Linked DNA regions of Homo sapiens: region 2 is linked to region 1. The links are contacts of gene promoters, found by promoter capture Hi-C in blood cells and fetal thymus (Javierre and others, 2016). All regions are on one chromosome and are shown on one strand. Each heading gives the region's core, a stretch centred on a gene start or on the middle of the fragment in contact. The rest is flanking DNA. Distances are from core to core; before and after follow the strand shown.

Region 1 (6,301 bases), core at 1,075-3,574:
CTCAAAGTCTATGTTCTGGTTTGTCTCAGGCCTTTCTGATCTTGGCCTACATATTAGGTGAAATCCTATGAGAGATTTATTGGAAGTCTTGGCCAAAGTAAAGGACCAATTTGGACCAAGGCAGAAAGAGTGGACTCGGGAAATAAGTGCATATAAAGAGACCAGGCTGTCACAAACATGGGGTGAGGGTGGGTGGAGGAGAGTAGGTAGGACTCTTGGACACAAAATTACCTTTCATTCCATAATAGGAAAAGCGCTCGCAGAATTCATTCACCACAATGAAGGCAATGCTCAGTGGATAGTTGGAGCCACAGATTGTCTATTCAACAAGAAGGCAATGATTCAAGCATGAGCTGTTTTTCCCTGTTTCAACAATTAGATTTCTTCAAAACTGAAAAATTCATTTATTTCAAATCATCTTGGTAGGTAATGGAGCAATGGTCTCTACTCTTCATGACACACCTATTAGGTAACACTAAAAGTGCTTATATTACTGATTTAGAAATAATAGAAGCTACTCTGAATATTATTTTGTTTCTTATTTATTTTACATGGACTTGCTCAAATATTCCTTGGACCTGCTCATCTTCCCACAACTACTAAATGAAAAGCCTAGGGCTCTGGGGCAGAAGAATGGTGATATTTACTTCCTAGGAACAGAATAAAGAGGTAGCCTATGGAATACCTGATATCCAAGCAGTGAGATTCAGATGTCAGTCTCTGCTTAGCCCCACTATGGGGACTCTTGTCCCCAGCTGTTCTGTTTGCCATGCTGGGAGGAATCCTGGCAATATGATAGCTTCTACTTCAGAGGCTGCTGGAGTCAGGCACAGAGCCCAACATGGAGGACAGAGATTCCTAAGGGTAAGCTAATTGATCACCTTGACTTTAGGCAGAGTTCTTAAATCCTGTAAAATTAAATGTCTACTCTTCCTACTAAAGAGATTCTATAACATTTTCATGATAATCCTACTGGACATTAAAAGAATTATGCTTTTCATGTAATATATCAGTCAGAATATAAGGAATGTTATGTTTTATTTTAATTCCCTATCTATTACAATAGACCAACTAACATGAGAAGAGACATAGAGGTATCTGTCCTCAGTACAGTCAAATCTTGTAAGATTTATATTGCCTCATTTCATGAGAAGTATATACATCTTTGCAAGTAGCCCTAAATTCTTTGGGACCAGAAGAGATATCATTAACTAAAAAAATAGGCAAAATAATAAAGTAATGTATTATTCTTTTAACCCTAGGGATATATATAAATGATCCTCCTAAATATTAATATATTTTAATGTTTTATAATAGCTTGTTTGAAACATACAATGAACTGGGCTTCTTACCTTTGCAGCTCACAGCTTGAGAATTATGCAATCTGGAGTTTAGCCGACACACTGTTAGCTAGTTAGGCAACACTGCCACTGGCTGTGTTAACATACTGATACTGGCATTGTCACTACACCTGTCTCAAAACCTCTGTTCTGTTATTCCAAAGAAATGAGAATAACATCACCTTTTGGCCCACTGTAAGAACTCAGTAAATTTTGGCTATCATTACTATATCCTCCCCACTTACAGAATTTTAGTGTAAGAATTGACTGAGATGATGAGTTTAGAAGTGCTTTAGCGAGTATATAAATGCAAAACATTACTATTCTCTGTTTCTCTGTCCTATCTCCCACAGTAAACTGGGAACACATAGTAACAGAAATTGGATCTATTCTGAAACTTCCATTGGTGTTCAGCAGAAGACTCTGCACACAGGGAGAACTAAGGGCAGAGTTTTTATATTGGTAAAGAAAGAACAATCACACACAGTTCTTCAGACAAGAATGCTTGCCAAGTTTCCCTGGACATTCGAATTGCTTTTTTCCCCCAGGGAAACAGAATATGCAATGAAATTCAGCAAGTCCCTGGATCCCAACTGAAGAACTTTGACTACCTCTTCCTGCTGCTTTGTCTTCTTATGTAAAGGAAGCTTCTGTTTAGATTTGGTTTCAGGTGAATTCTAAATCCAAGAGAGAAGCATTTTAATACCCTAATACAGCTCAGCTGGAAGCTCCAGAGCCCAAGGAAGAGAGCCAAAAGAGGGAGGCCATTCCTCTCAGAGGCAGGATTGAATCTAAGGACTCACCGGAGATGGCTTCTTTGGAGGGCTAGGTGGTCGAGGTGGTACCTCTTCAATGGAGACAGGTGAAAAAAGAGTTTCCTTGGACTCATTTTTCTGGAAAGGATTCATGGCTGGCTCCTTACTCTCTCTCTCTCCTCAAGCATTTGGCTTTAGTAGGCAGTTAGGACAGCTGCCAGCCTACTCTGAAAAGAAGGACTGGGAGGGGGAGCTGGTGGCTTCAGCAACTCAGTTTAACTCTGTGGGTGTCAGCTTCAATAGCTTCCTGATCCAGAGCAAAGCAGGAAGCTATAGTTAAAAAGAATGTGTAAAAGTACAGCACAGCAAAGTGAAAACATGCCAAAGACAGAATGAAACAATGCTAGAGAACTGATTAGAAAGTCTATGTTTAAGAAAGATTATCTTTGCAAAGGAGTAGAAGATAGTTAAGAACACAACACCTCGAGCACAGATTGAAAAACTGATTCCATGGTCAGGCGCGGTGGTTCACGCATATAATCCTAGCACTTTGGAAGGCCCAGGCAGGCGGATCGTTTTAGGTCAGCAGCCTGGCCCACATGGTGAAACCCCGTCTCTACTAAAAATACAAAAAAAAAATTAGCTGGGTGTGGTGGCGGGCGCCTATAATCCCAGCTACTCAGGAGGCTAAGGCAGAAGAATCACTTGAACCTGGGAGGCGGAGGTTGCGGTGAGCTGAGATTGCACCATTGCACTCCAGCCTGGGCAACAAGAGCGAAACTCCATTTCCAAAAAAAAAAAAAAAGAAAAACTGATTTCAGGGTAACAATAGCTGTAATTTATTGAACATCTACTATTGAAAGGTTAATATATATGAATTACATCTATGTTGTATATCTATAACATATATATTTATTCTAATTCATATTACTATCCCCATTTTATAGAAAGTAATGTTCCCAGAGGTTAAGAAATTTGTTCAAAGTACCTGTCCACTAAGTGGCAGATCTGGAATTTTCACTATGCCATGACAGCTGGGAAAAGTGGAGTTAGTGTCAGTCATTATTCAGGTATGGAGGTTACATAAATGGAATGTAGGAATGCAGAGGATTAAAATGCATTGGAGAAGGAAAGTCATCATAAAACTGAGTTTGGAAGATAAGAAAGATGGTGAGTTTTGGCTGGGTGCAGAGGCTTACGCCTGTAATCCCAACACTTTGGGAGGCCGAGGTGGGCTGATCACAGCTCAGGAGTTCAAGATTAGCCTGGCCAACATAGTGAAACCCCATCTCTACTAAAAATACAAAAATTAGCTGGGTGTGGTGGCACGCGCCTGTAGTCCCAGCTACTCAGGAGGCTGAGGCAGGAGAATCGTTTGAACCCAAGAGGCAGAGGTTGCAGTGAGCCGAGACCCCACCACTGCACTCCAGCCTGGGCGACGGAGCAAGACTTGAAAGAAAGAAAGAAAAGAAGGGAAAGAAAGGAAAGAAAGAAAGAAAAGAAGGGAAAGAAAGGAAAGAAAGAAAAGAAAAGAAAGGAAGGAAGGAAGGAGACTTTTGTTTTCAACATCATAAAAGTTCAGCTAGAAATAGCCTATAAGCAATTAAAGAGGTGGGGCTAAAGAAAATGAGAGAAAAGGATTGGTGATATACATTTGGGAACCATTGTTCTTCTTTGCTAAAGTCACTCCTTATATTTTCATTTTCTCACTTCAAGATTAATCTATTCTTTCATTTAATAAATAAAATTTAATTTGAGCAAAAATTGTGAACCAGTTACTTTCTAGGTACTGTTGTGAACACCATTTTCCTTAATTATACATTTAGTCCTTATCAGAAGAGGAACAAGAACAAACATCATAATGCTAGGTGCATTTTATGCTGTGTTATTTTTGTCAAGCCAAAGAAGTAAAAGGATAAGAAAAGAGCATGGTGCCCCTCTAGTTGTTTGTCAAAAGAAAAGGGAAAAGAAAGGCTAGAGAGCTATAAAAGAAATAAGAAAAATGAAGACTAAATCAACAAGGTCAGGCAACATCAGAATGAATTATTTTATTTGAAAATACAAGAGAGAAAACCTATAACTCTATCCCTCACAAAATTTTTACTTTAACTATTCAAATAATTTATTGACAAATAGGGCCAGGATAAACTGTCTTTTCCTCTCTAAACTTTAACTCAGACTTTGACCATATCTTCTCAGCTTCTATTACACCCCTCATTTCTACTGTCTCCCACCAACCTTTACCCAAAGAAGAGTCCAGCTTCATTTCTGACTGTGGCATTAATAATTAAGGTATAGTTATTCTTTCAGGAAGCACTGCCATTTCTGAATTGGTTTGGTTAATGACTTTGGCTGGAAAATAAATGGTCAGAAGTTACTAGTCAAGTTAACTAGCAGAGGCACAGATGCCTTGAAGATCCACTTATGTTGTGGCTTTCCTTGATCTGGCAGAGTAGATGGAATAGCACCTGTATGCAATGTACCAATTTATTTGTGCTCATAGGTATCCCAAATACTAAACTTTGGAGTATTGGCAGTGGTTTTCTGACACTCCTTTGTTTAGACAAAATTCTTCTTTTGATTATGGCAGTATAATGATAGTATTCACAGAATCGAATAATATCAGAGATGGAAGGAATCTTAATCTTGTCCTATGTGAGTGAAACTTCCCTGAGGATAAGAATCATTTTCCTTTGGAAATTCCAATTCAGTAGATCTCGGTAGGGATCTAAGAATCTTTGTTTTCAACGAGCACCTCTAGCAATTCTTACGCTAGGAATTTGGGAAACACTGGTCATAAATTCTCTCCTATTCTATTTCAGAGGAACTCAGAAGGGACAAAGCAAGGACTGGAACCCTAGGCTCCCAAGGCATAGTCTTGAGCCATTTATATAATATTAAGATGGCTCTTAAATCCTATTATTTTGCTAACATCAGATAGAAGGAGAAAGAGAAGAGATAAAAAGAAAGCACCTCCCAGACAGAAATGAGCACCAACTATTCTGAGACAAACAATAAAAGTGAAAGAATCTAAGTATCAGTGATGAGTAAAGAATATTTGTGTCCTTAGTGATTACAACATCAGAAAACATTTATTATGACATATGATAAAGTTTTAGTTATATATACACAAAAGTAGACTGCTGCTCTAAGTTAATAGAATCTAATATAGTCAGAGAGAAGAGGAAAATATGAAATTAAAAGGGAACATATATTTAACAAGTTCTCTAAATTAAAATACACAAAAATAAATTGTATCAAACATCAGTCACAAAGAAATAGAAAAGGGAAATCTAAGGAATACATTTATATATTTATTTATATAAATAGATTTAGGAATAAATCTAACAAAAGATCTTCTAGACCTCAATATTAAAAACTATAAAATTTTACTGAAAGAAATTGAAGAAGATCTAAATAAATGGAAACATACCATGCTTATGAATTGGAAGGCTCATATTGTAAAGATGTCAACATTTCTCAAAACATTCTACAGTTCTAAAACAAAATCCCAGCAGGTTTTGTGAGTATAGAAAATGACAAGATGACTTTTTAAAGTCAACTTGGAAGTGCAAAGAGCCAAGGATAGCAAAGTCAATCTTAAAGAATAATGGTGGAGGATTGTATTACCCAATCTAAGACCTATTTTAAAGATAGTTATTATATCAGAGTGGAATTGACACAGATAACATAGGGCAACCAATGAAACAACACAGCGTTCAGAAAGTGATTCACACACATAATGTATATAACAAAGATGATGCTGTAATACAGTGAAGGAAATGATGTTGATTTCAATAAATAAACACCATTTGAATATCCATACCCCCTAAATTATTTTGACCCTTATTTTACAACATACACAAAAATAATTTCTATATAGATTGCCTATCTAAATGTTAAAGTAAAAAAAAATGTCTTTAGAGGAAAACATAAGAGAACATCTTTATGATTGTGGAGTAAGTCAGCATTTCTTTTTTTTCTTTCTTTTTTTTTTTGAGACGGAGTCTCTGCTCTGTCGCCCAGGCTGGAATGCAGTGGCATGATCTCACTGCAACCTCCGCCTCCCGGGTTCAAGCTATTCTCCTGCCTCAGCCTCCTGAGTAGCTGGGATTACAGGCACGCGCCACCACGCCTGGCTAATTTTTGTATTTTTAGTAGAGACGGGATTTCACCATGTTGGTCAGGCTGGTCTCAAACTCCTGA
Region 2 (6,301 bases), core at 2,516-5,015, 230 kb before region 1:
GCTGCTCCTCAAGACAAGGGCTTTCCGAAATATTAACTGGGAGCCTTTGGTCCTTTTTATTCTCAGCTTAACTGCTTAGAATTTCATGTTATATTTAGTAAGGAATGAGCTTCCTGTTATCTTCACAAAGAAGTAGATATTATTGATTGTCTGGAAATAATCTTGACAAAGGAAAGATAAAGGTCCCAGGAACTTGGCTTTGGTCTCAGAAGGTAAAGTTGGAAAAGTTCCACGTGCATAAGGTGAGAGCATGAATCATCTCAGTCCCTAAGTTGAGATCCTGAGAGTGGGACTTCATGTGAGGCTGATGCAGGAGGAGTTGTAGGAGCATTTCTGGCTTTCAGCAGGGTGTTTGGAAGACTTCTGGGCTGAGTGTTATATGAAAGAATCCAAGCCCACGCCTGTTAATCCATGTACAGCCCAACCTACAACTCCTCCTACATCAGCCTCACATGAAGTTGCCATCCTCCCACTACTAATTCTCACTCACCATCCTCAAGCCCACCCTGTTGAAACAAGCTACCCAATTGCTTGTTTGTTGTGGCTCTTTTATTTTTCTTTCCTTTCCTTTTTTAAACAGTATAATCCTTATCTTTTGGATTGCCCTTGATCCTGTAAGGTAGGTAGATATTATTATCCCTATTTTACAAATAAGAAAACTGAAAATCAGAGATTAAGTAATTAGCCCAAGGTCACACAGTCAAGTGTAGTGGTGTCAGGTCTATCTGACCTAAAGTCCATGATCTTCCTTCATTATGCTCTGTTGACACCCATTTTCCAGCTCTTCCAGTTAACAAGAAGTTTAGAGGGGCACAGTGGGGTGGGAAGAACCCTGGACTGAAAAATCAGGAACCTGAGTTCTGGTCATGGCTCTTTTTGGTGTTGGGTGAATTACTCCCTTCTCTGCCCTCATGTACCACATACAATGGGAAGGTTCTCCTCATTGCTTTCTGAATTTCTTCCATTTCTAGTAGACTGTTAGGACAATTTAGTGACTTTTACTTTGTACTTGGTATATTTAGGAAACTGAGTTCACAATGTTTAATCTGAATCAATGTTATAATCAGGTCACGGGAAGAGAAACCACTTTGCCACATGCTACAAGTACGATAGGGCTATCGTACTAAAAACACATGGAGTAAGTACATTTATGCATACTGAATAAGGAATGCAGAGGTTCCATCACTACTCACACCCACCCCTCTTCTCTCACTTGGCTCCCAAAATACTAGCAGCTATACCTCTACCTTCCAAGCAAGATACTGAAAAATTACCAGCTCAAAAAAGAAGATCTAAAAATGATTTCCTAAAAATGTCTTGCTCCAGATCCCTCTACCATGAAGCTAAAGTTGACAAACCCATCCATAAACTCAGATCCTCCAAACTTTTAGTTTTTCACTCTTAATTGTGAACAGACAGTCAAGTATCATCAGACAGCTGGGAATCCTTTAACATGGATGATATAGATCAAAGCAAACAAACAGGAAGAAATAACTTGGAATATAAAACTTTAAAAACAAACAACCTAATCGTTAATATCCTAAGAGAGTTAAGAGATAATATTTCAACCATTAGGAACAGGCTCCTTGCAAAAAGAAACATTCAGAAAACAAAAAGGAGCTCTGAAAATAAAACATGATAGCAGAAGTAAAAAGTACAACAGAAAGGCTGGAAGATAAACTTGAGAAAATCTCTAGGAAATGGAACAAAAAACAAAATATGGGCAACAGGAGAGAAAATAACAAAATTGGAGGATCAGTCTAGGAGATTCAACATTCAGGAATCTGACATTCTAAAATGAGAGACTAGTGAAATAGAGGGGAAAAATAATCAATGAAATAATTCAGGAAAATTTCCCTGGAGGAAAGGACATGAGTTTCCAGAAGAAAAGTCCATCTGAGTGTTAATCACAATGGACAAACAGGCATTTCATGACAAAATCTTAGAACACTGAGCAGATTCTAAAAGCTTTCATGTAAAAAGATAAGGAGTCAGAATATTTGTAGATTTCTCAAGAGCAACACTGGAAACTATGGACAATGAAAATAATTTCCAACCCAAATTTTTATACCAAGCAAAATTATTAATAGTTAAGCAGGAAAGTAAGATAAAGACATTTTCAGATACATAAAATTTCATTAAATATATTTCCCACAGATCCTTTCTCAGAAAGCTGCTGGATCAAGCTACTGAAGGATATGCACCACCAAAGTGAGGGGGTAAATCAAGAAAGACAACTATATGGACATAGGAATTGGGAGATCCCTTCAGGGTAACTGTTGCTCACCAGACCTAGGGTGTAACTTGTTCAGATTGGAGCAGGTTTTAAACTTTGTGACTAAGGACAGTGAAGGATTCTATATCTGTAAGTATCTTTTCTTCTGAAGTGAACAGGTAGACATAATAAAATCCAATGGAATCTCACTTTTATTATAAGATCCACAATGATGCTAGAATATTGGTGAGAATGAAAACTTATACATACAGATGTATGTTTTTAATATGAAGGATTACACTGAAGACTGATGTCAATCATCCTAGCAAGAGTATTCTGATTTCTTTAGACTGTAGTGTAAAGTAAAACCAAATCTGCCTGAGTAAGGGGAATATGTGTATGTGTGTGTACACACACTTAAAAATAGGCATACTGTGACTACGAATGGATACCCAGGAAGCTGGAGATCAGAGTTGTGTGGCTAGGGAAAGGGAATGTGAGGGAGACCTTTTCACTATTTACCTTCTTGTTTCTCTTGGTGTGTTGGACAGAATGAAGGGTAAGAGAGATAGGAGACTGGGATCAGTTGGGAGGTGACTGACATGTTTTTGGTATGAATAAAAAAGGTCCTGAATGAGAAAATAAGAGGTGGGTGTGAAAGTGGGAGGAATGCTTTCCTGGCCTAGTGATGACTGATAACAGAATGAGGCAGGAGCGAAGGGGTGAGCAGTGGGTGCTGAGGGAAAGGTTGAATGCAGTCATCAGAGATGACTCTTTGCTTTCAAGCCTGGGTTAATGTATTTGTTCCTTCTCACACTGCTAATAAAGACACACCCAAGACTGGTTAATTTATAAAGGAAGGAGGTTTAATTGACTCACAGTTCAGCAGGGCTGATGAGGCCTCAGGAAACTTAAATCATGGTGGAAGGGGAAGCAAACATATCCTCTTTCACAGGATGATAGGAAGGAGAAATGCCAAGCAAAAGGCAGAAAAGCCTCTTATAAAACCATCACATCTCATGAGAACTCACTCACTATCATGAGAACAGCAGCATGGGGGTAACTGCCCACATGATTCAATTACCTCCCACTGGGTCCCTCCCACAACACGTGGAGATTATGGGAACTACAATTCAAGATGAGATTTGGATGGGGACACAGCCAAACCATATAATTTCACCCCTGGCTCCTCCCAAATCTCATGTCCTTACATTTCAAAATACAATCATGCCTTTCCAACAGTCCCCCAAAGTCTTAACTCATTCCAGCATTAACCCAAAAGTCCCAAGTCCAAAGTCTCATCTGAGACAAGGCAAGCACCTTCCGCCTATGAGCCTGTAAAATCAAAAGAAAGTTAGTAACTTCCTAGATACAATGGGGGTACAGGCATTGGGTAAATATACCCATTCCAAATGGGAGAAATTTGCCAAAACAAAGGGGCTACAGGCCCCATGCAAGTCCAAAATCCAGTGGGGCAGTGAAATCTTAAAGCTCCAAAATGATCTCTCTTTTGTCTCCATCTCTCACATCCAGGTCATGCTGATGCAAGAGGTGGGCTCCCATGGCCTTGGGCAGCTTGGCCTCTTTGGCTTTGCAGGGTACAGCCCCCTCCTGACTTCCTTCATGGGTTGGCATTGAGTGTCGGTGACTTTTCCAGGCGCATGGTTGGTGGACCTACAATTCTGGGGTCTGGATGATGGTGGCCCTCTTCTCATAGCTCCACTAGGCAGTGCCCCAGTGGGGACTCTGTGTGGGGGCTCCAACCCCACATTTCCCTGCTGCACTGCCCTTGCAGAGGTTCTCCATGAGAGCTCTACCCCTGCAGCAAACTTCTGCCTGGACATCCAGGTGTTCCCATACATCCTCTGAAATCTACGGGGATGTTCCCAAACCTCAATTCTTGACTTGTGTGCACCTGCAGGTTCACTGTGCTGAAGCTGCCAAGCCTTGGGGCTTGCACCCTCTGAAGCCATGACCTGAACTGTATCTTGGCCTCTTTTAGCCATGGCTGGGATGCAGGGCACCAAGTCCCAAAACTGCACAAAGCAGCAAGGCCTCGGGCCTGGCCAGGAAACCGTTTTTCCCTCCTAGGCCTCTTGGCCTGTGATGAGAAGGGCTGCTGTAAAGAGTTCTGACATGGCCTGGAGACATTTTCCCATTATCTTGGCAATTAACATTTGGCTCCTTGTTACTTATGCAAATTTCTGCAGCTGGCTTGAATTTCTCCTCAGAAAATGGGTTTTCTTTTCTATCACATTGTCAGGCTGCAAATTTTCCAAACTTTTAAACATAAGTTCCAATTCCAAACCATATTTTTGGGAATACATAAAACTGAATGCTTTTAACAGCACGAAAGTTACATCTTGAATGCTTTGCTGCTTAGAAATTTCTTCCACCAGATACCCTAAATCATCTCTCTCAAGTTCAAAGTCCCACAAATCTCTAGGGCAGGGGCAAAATGCCACCAGTGTCTTTGCTAAAACATAGCAAGAGTCACCTTTATTCCAGTTCCCAACAAGTTCCTCTTCTCTATCTGAGACCACCTCAGCCTGTATTTCATTGTCCATATTACTATCAGCATTTTGGTCAAAGCCATTCAACAAGGCTCTGGGAAGTTCCAAACTTTCCTACATCTTCCTGTCTTCTTCTGAGCCCTCCAAACTGTTCCAACCTCTGCCTGTTACAAAGCTCTGCCACTTACAAAGTTAACAATGTTGGGTAAATTACTCTGACTTATCTCTGTGTTTATATTTTCTCATCAGCATAATGGGCATAATATTCCATTACCTACGTCACAGGGTCATTGTGAGGATTAAATAGGATAATGAGTTTAAAGGTTTAGATGAGTGACGGGTATATGGTAAATGTGAAATAATGTTAGCTAGTACTATTCTGCCTAATGACCTCTTTCAACCTTCTTTTTCTTTCCCCTAGTCTTAGAATACAGCAGTTCAGAGAATTTAATATACAAAGGAGGGATGTTCTCACCAAAGGGCATGTTAATATTTCATTCAATCTTTAAACAGATATGTTTTGAGAGAACAAAAAAGAATTCTGAAAAGAATACATGATAGCAGAAATAAAAATACAACAGAAGTTAGAAGATAAAGTTGAGGGAATCTTTAAGAAATACAACAAAAGACAAAAAGATGGACAATAGAATAGACAACTATCTTAGTTGTCTGAGGATCCATTGGAGAGAAATTAAACACATTCCTGCCCTCACAGAGTCTAGGTAATTTTCTTTTTTCCAGAGTTTTCCTGGCTCCTCTCACATGCTGTATGTGTATATATGCATTTATTTTATAATCATGGTGTTTTCAAGGAATATTTTTACATTAAGCTTTTGTTTAATGTACATGTAAGTACATAATTAAAAAATTACACACTACAGGTTACAAACTCAAAAGTAAGCTTCCCTTCCTTATTCCAGATTTCTTAGTTGTCCTCAAAAACAACCATTCTTACTTGATTTTTTATGACTTATTACTGAGATAAACATATAGAAGTATACAAGCCTCCTTTCTCAAATAATGGTAGGGAAAAGGGAGGAGGAGAAGATACAGGATGCGTGAGAGGCTTCTAGCCATAGAGATGTAAAGAGAAAGGAAGTACATTCAGAGGACAGAGCAGGGAACATCAGACCACAAGGGTTGAGTAGTACTCTTGAAGCCAAAGCAGAAAATGTAGACTTTTAAATGAATGTAACAAGCATTTATTAAAAACTGTGCTGCACAAAACATGTTAGAAACTAGCCAGGTGCTAGGAGTCTAATCAAGGCAGGGGCAGGGTAAAAACATGGGAATATTACATGGACAAGCTTGTCTAGCATGGCAGTCTATAACCCTTGAGGGTTTACATAAAATAAAGGAACATTTTTGTGGCTCAGGCTCCCCAGAGTTCTCTTTATGTTTGGGCAGAGACTGCCCCATCCCTTAGTGATCCCACCTTAGAGCCAGGTTTTCAAAGTCATTTCTCCCAGTATATCTGTCTCTGTATGCAAGTTTCCTCTGGTTGCCTTGAGCAAAAACAATCATCCAACTCAAATTTGCTAGCCCTATGCTGGGCCAGCCCACGTTCCCGTAG

Evidence for each region. Contacts are between HindIII fragments. The CHiCAGO score rates a contact against its expected background, and 5 or more counts as called.
Region 2: a fragment that was not itself captured here is called in contact with the fragment with the promoter of SLC15A2 in region 1 in 2 of 17 cell types (monocytes and total B cells); the score reaches 6.4 in monocytes.

The regions. Positions count from the first base shown.
Region 1 is chr3:121,890,424-121,896,724 of GRCh38, reverse strand. It overlaps SLC15A2 (solute carrier family 15 member 2), which reads right to left and starts at 2,324. Exons shown (of 22, transcript NM_021082.4): 1 at 2,144-2,324; 2 at 232-319. The coding sequence starts at 2,248. RefSeq lists enhancers at 2,832-3,364, 3,365-3,898. The HindIII fragment of the contact is 13,918 bases long and covers 1,990-6,301 here.
Region 2 is chr3:122,120,750-122,127,050 of GRCh38, reverse strand. CD86 (CD86 molecule) reads right to left here. Exons shown (of 7, transcript NM_175862.5): 7 at 5,915-6,301. Among named protein-coding and RNA genes, the nearest start is that of CASR, 60 kb to the left of the region's middle. The HindIII fragment of the contact is 3,590 bases long and covers 1,971-5,560 here.